2 separate regions of the Homo sapiens genome follow, and region 1 is linked to region 2. Evidence: promoter capture Hi-C in human tissues and cell types (Jung and others, 2019). All regions are on one chromosome and are shown on one strand. Each heading gives the region's core, a stretch centred on a gene start or on the middle of the fragment in contact. The rest is flanking DNA. Distances are from core to core; before and after follow the strand shown. Region 1 has its middle 61 kb from the start of PPP2CA-DT. Region 2 holds the start of CDKL3 (cyclin dependent kinase like 3).

Evidence for each region. Contacts are between HindIII fragments. The study calls those that stand out against the background at their distance.
Region 1: a contact is called between a fragment that was not itself captured here and the fragment with the promoter of CDKL3 in region 2, in 2 of the 25 tissues and cell types used here (mesendoderm cells and thymus).

What each region holds. Positions count from the first base shown.
Region 1 is chr5:134,285,818-134,288,723 of GRCh38, forward strand. It overlaps a transcript of CDKL3 not described here. Among named protein-coding and RNA genes, the nearest start is that of PPP2CA-DT, 61 kb to the left of the region's middle. The HindIII fragment of the contact is 7,286 bases long and covers 1-2,906 here.
Region 2 is chr5:134,365,641-134,368,537 of GRCh38, forward strand. It overlaps CDKL3 (cyclin dependent kinase like 3), which reads right to left and starts at 1,531. Exons shown (of 13, transcript NM_001113575.2): 1 at 1,337-1,531; 2 at 719-904. The coding sequence starts at 883. The HindIII fragment of the contact is 10,082 bases long and covers 1-2,897 here.

The DNA.
Region 1 (2,906 bases), core at 279-2,778, 80 kb before region 2:
TGCTGCTTAGAAATTTCTTCCACCAGTTGGGTGCAGTGGCTCATGCCTGTAATCCCAGCACTTTGGGAGGCCAAGGCATGTGGATCACGAGGTCAAGAGATTGAGACCATCCTGGCCAACATGGTGAAACCCCGTCTCCACTAAAAATACAAAAATTAGGTGGGTGTGGTGGCACATGCCTATAGTCCCAGTTACTCAGGAGGCTGAGGCAGGAGAATCACTTGAACCCAGTAGGCACAGGTTGCAGTGAGCCAAGATCATGCCACTGCACTCCAGACTGGTTATAGAGTGAGACTGTCTCAAAAAAGAAAAAAAACAACAACAACAAAAAGAAATTTCTTCCACCAGTTACCCTAAATCACCTCTCTCAAGTTCAAAGTTCCACAATCTCTAGTGCAGGGGCAAAATGCTGCCAATCTCTTTGCTAAAACATAACAAGAGTCACCTTTGCTCCAGTTCCCAACAAGTTCCTCATCTCTATCTGAGACCACCTCAGCTTGGATTTTATTGTCCATATCATGATCAAGCTTCTGGTCAAAGCCATTCAACAAGTCTCTAGAAAGTTCCAAACTTTCCCACATTTTCCTGTCTTCTTCTGAGCTCTCCAAACTGTTCAAACCTCTGCCTGTTACCCAGTTCCAAAGTTGCTTCCACATTTTTGGGTATCTTTTCAGCAATGCCCCACTCTACTGGTACCAATTCACTGTATTGGTCTGTCTTCATGCCGCTGATAAAGACGTACCTGAGACGGGACAATTTACAAAAGAAAGAGGTTTATTAGACTTACAGTTCCACATGGCTGGGGAGGCTTCACAATCATGGTGGAAGGCAAGGAACAGCAAGTCATGTCTTACATGGATGGCAGCATGCAAAAAGAGAGGGAGCTTGTGCAGGAAAACTCCCCCTTGTAATAACCATCAGATCTCATGAGACTTACTATTATGAGAACAGCACAGGAAAGACCTGCCCCCATGATTCAATTACCTCCCACCAGGTCCCTCCTACAACACGTGGGAATTCAAGATGAGATTTGTGTGGGGACACAGCCAAACCCTATCAGTAAGGCTGAAGAAACAGCAAAATGATAAAGTGGAAACATTTAGCAAACATATAGAGACTGTAGCTTCAGGTAAATGTCTGTGGAAGAACTACAAATTTTGGAGAAATACCCTCAGAGGTGGTAGCCAAGCTATAAGAGTAACATACTTCTCTCAAGGAACAGGGAAGAGTGGAGGCCTTAAGAACTGCCAGGGAAACAGGTAGGAAGAAAAATTATCAGTAGAACAGAAAAGCACTTAGAATTAAGAAGAAAATGATGACATGTGACAAAAAAGAAGGCGCGCTTTGAGGAGGAAAAGATGATTCATAGTGTGAAATGTGACACAAAGATCAGGAAAAATAAGGATTTTTTAAAAGTCACTGAATTTGACAATTAGGTGATAACTGGTGCCCATCAAAAGCAAGTTTTTATTACTCTGGTGAAAACAGAACCCTGACTCAATTATTTAATGGATCGAATTTTAATTTTATTCTTCAAGGGGTGTTAAACACAAGAGAGTGTTCCCTATCCTTGTGACTCTATTCTGTGTTCCTTCTTCCAAAGGAAAGGTAATGAGTGCCACACAGCAGCAACCCACTGAGCAACCAGTTGTATCCCCTTTCACTTATGACAACTTCACGTGGTCAAAGGACTTAGAGCCAAGACTCCCAATCATCACATGGATGCTACCCAACAGATTTCAAGACCTAGCCAATTGATTGCCAATTCAGCTGCCCCTGCCACTGCCATTGCCATAACCTACTTGTTTGCATGAGTTTTGGTGGCTATGGAGAACCAAATAGGAGCAATCCTATCAGCAGAGGCATATTTATTGAAAGCCAATGTAGTCCCTCACTTGCACAGGCTGCACCCAAAGCCATGGAAACAGCCCTTCTAATTTTGCCTTTGAAATTTTGTGTTTCCTCCTCAAAAAGAGCCCTCATTTAAAAGTATCAGCTTCCATAAAACCTGGATCTGCCTAAATTAACCAGTAACTCATCTTCTCGACACCTTACCACAGCTATGTTTGTAACTTTACTTTTTTTTTTTTTTTTGAAATGGCGTTTCACCCTTGTTGCCCAGGCTAGAGTGCAATGGTGCAATCTCAGCTCACCACAACCTCTGCCTCCCAGGTTCAAGTGATTCTCCTGCCTCAGCCTCCCGAGTAGCTGGGATTACAGACATGTGCCACCACACCCAGCTAATTTTGTATTTTTAGTACAGATGGGGTTTCTCCATGTTGGTCAGGGTGGTCTCGAACTCCTGACCTCAGGTGATCTGCCCGCCTTGGCCTCCCAAAGTGCTGGGATTATAGGCATGAGCCACCAAGCCTGGCCTGTAACTTTACTTTTAAAACTCCACTAACACTCAAAAACTCTGAGAAAATCCAATGTAACCCCAAATGATAAAAGTTGGAAAGTGTTGAGCTAAACTTGCTTTTCTCAGGGTGGAAAAGAATTACAGTACTAGTATCTCTTTTTTGACATGGTACAACTCTAACTGGGTCTCCAGAGATTAATTTTCTTCCAAACCACAATAGCGGACACATTATACAGCTCTCTTTTAAAACTGTAAATGCCATGTTTTTTCTTGTATTTAATGAAACACTTTATGCCTGCAGAACAGATAACTCATGCCAACTTTATGTCTAAATAAATGGTGACCAGTGCACAGATACCCTAGGAGTTTCACAGGCAGTATGCAACAAGAGTAGAGGACACTTTCAGACCTAATTTATTCCCAAAGGGAATTAAGTCAGGATAAACTCAGATAACTCGCATAACAAAACTTAAAGACCATAATTCTTCATCCTTGAAGAAGACACAGAGACCCAGTGAACTACTAAATTTCATCACTACAAACCCAC
Region 2 (2,897 bases), core at 281-2,780:
CCACCTCTTACAAAATCAAGTTTTGACTCCTTAGCCTAAAAGACTTTAAAATCTACCTCCAATTTACTGTTCTAATATACCTCTTTCCAATTCTGCTCAGAAAACTCTACAGGCACATGTCTTTGCTCTTTGTCCTTTCCACTTTGCCCTTTATCCTTTGTCCTTCTTTAGTCTCTTTTGAGTTTATGTTGTTCCTCTAACCTAGAACACAACAGTTTCTCCCTCTTATCTAAACCCTCCACATCCTTCAAAGCCAAATTCATGTCCCATTTCCTCAAAAAAACTTTCCCTACCAGGGAAAGGACTTTGTGTTGATTCCTTGGCATTTATTATGAGCCACTTTTTATTCAGTATGATTTTCATATACTCTCCTTTCTGATTAAATTATAGAAGTCTTTAAGGGCAGGAACTATCTTTTACCTCCTTATAGTCTCAGTACCTAGCACCATGCCTTGCACATAGCAGAAATTTTTATTAAGTATTATACTTGAATATTTCTGAATAATTATTAAACAATATTGGTGTAGCTTTTGTTACATACCCCAAAACACATATATCTTGTATCACTATAAAATTACAAAATGTAGATAAGATAGAGTATTACACTTGTTTCTCCATAATATGAATCAGTACGTGTGAACTAAAATATTTTATGCAATTTTTTATTCCATAACAATTTTTTCTTTTGACTTAGATGATTAAGGCAAAAGAAGCAAACCTTTAGAAACTTTATTTCTCTCATCGCAATTTTGTTGACAGATTGTTCTGGTCTCTCATAAAATATCTTAATGGCCACTATCTGCCCAGTATTCTTATGTTTACATTTCATGACTGTTCCGTAACTTCCCTCTCCCACTTTTCCAAGGGTTTCATACATCTCCATTTTCAAGCTGGGCTTTTACTACTTTATAGAAATAAAGAAAGAAAATGGAAAATGTTAAACGTTTATACTTTTATTTATTAAAACTAGATAATGCATATCCACAATAAACCCACAGTCTCAAATATAGAGACATTAAAAAAAAAAAAGGAATCTTTTCCACTGAGCCTTTTTGTCTTTGGGAACTAAAGACAGCTTGAGTAAGGTGTCCTTCTGAGGCTCCACCTCTCACCAGAACTTAGGGGTACTCCTGCTGTCTCGGTCATGCCCATCAACACTGAGACTACCACACTATAAGTCACCATCCATCAAGCATGGGGTCCCTACACTTCCTGTCATGTTCCTGTCAAATAATAGGTTCCCGCACTACTGCAGTCGCCCACTTATCAGGCCCAAGGTCCTAAAAAAAGCCTGGTCTCGCCCGCAACTCAAACCACACGTCTTAGGATGCCGGACCGGCGTCACGCCCCACGTCCCGCTGTTGACTTTATCCAAACAGCCGCCGCCGCCTCAGCCCATTCTGTGGTCCCGCTGGTCTGGCTCTGCGTAGTTCCAGTGGAGCCACCGAACACTGATACTACTTTGTTGCTCAGCCCCGCAAGGAACCGGCCACTTGCCACCATGGAAACGCCGGCGGAGTTGCTGCGTTCTAGACTCGTGCGCAAGACCGGAACATGGGCAGGGTCCCGACCCGGAAGGGGAAGTGGGAAGAAACGGAAACCTACTCTGGGTAGGCGCAAGGTGGAAGAGTGCTGTGCTTGGGAATGGGGGAGGGGAGTACAGATTGCTGTCGCAGCTGAGCCTCCTCACAAGGTTGCTTTTGAATGTGGATAGGAAGGATCTGCATCTTTTTTTTTTTTTTTTTTTTTTTTGAGATAGTCTAGCTCTGTCGCCCAGGCTGGACTGCAGTGTCGCTGATCTTGGCTCACTGCAACCTCCTCCTTCCAGGTTTAAGTGATTTTCCTGCCTCAGCCTCCCGAGTAGCTGGGATTACAGGCGTGTGCCACCACGCCCGGATAATTTTGTATTTTTAGTAGAGACGGGGTTTCTACCATGTTGGCCAGGCTGGTCTCGAACTCCCAACATCAGGTGATCCGCCTGCCTCGGCCTCCCAAAGTGCTGGGATTACAGGCGTAAGCCACCGCCCCCGGTCAAGATGGTTCTTAAATCAAAAACTTTTCTTGAACACTTGCCATATGCCTTTTAATTTTTTCCAACTGCTAGTAATCTTTTTTAAAGAAAAAAAACCTCCCTCACCACATGTCAAACTCTAGGAAAGCAAGTAATTCGAAGAGTTCCACCATATACGAAATGATGTACAAGAGCACGGAAATAAAGAGGCCAGTGTCTAACTGCTTAAGTAGACATAGAGTTCAACTGGAATGACAGTCCCTAATGAATAACCACCATATCACTAGACCAAGTGCCTAGGGAGTGCTTTCTTTATTGAATAGGGCTTTCTTTGCTTTCTTCTATAAAATGAGTTAAATGTAAAAAAGCGAAATCTCGCTATGCTTCCGCTAAATAAGAGGAAAGGCATTATTTAATAAATCTAGTCTGGTGGGTCCCACCCAGCATGCATATTTAAATCACACCTGGAGAGCTTTTAGAAAGCATCCCAACCCCCACCTCCACACCCCTGCCCCAATGCCAGAGCACCTGATTTAATTGGGATAGCGTAAATAAATTAGTATTTTTGAAGCTTCTCAAGTTTTTTCTATGCTGCTAGGGTTTATATTGAGAGAAAGGAGAAGTGGTCATCGTTTTCATTGATCACCTAAAATATTCAGAATTGTCTTTTCTTTGAAGGTTATTCAGACGGGCGCAGTGGCTAACGCCTGTAATCCCAGCACTTTGGGAGGCCCAGGCGGGCGGATCACGAGGTCAGGAGATCGAGACCATCCTGGCTAACACGGTGAAACCCCATTTCTACTAAAAAATAGAAAAAATTAGCTGGGCGTGGTGGCGGGCGCCTGTAGTCCCAGCTACTCGGGAGGCGGAGGCAGGAGAATGGCGT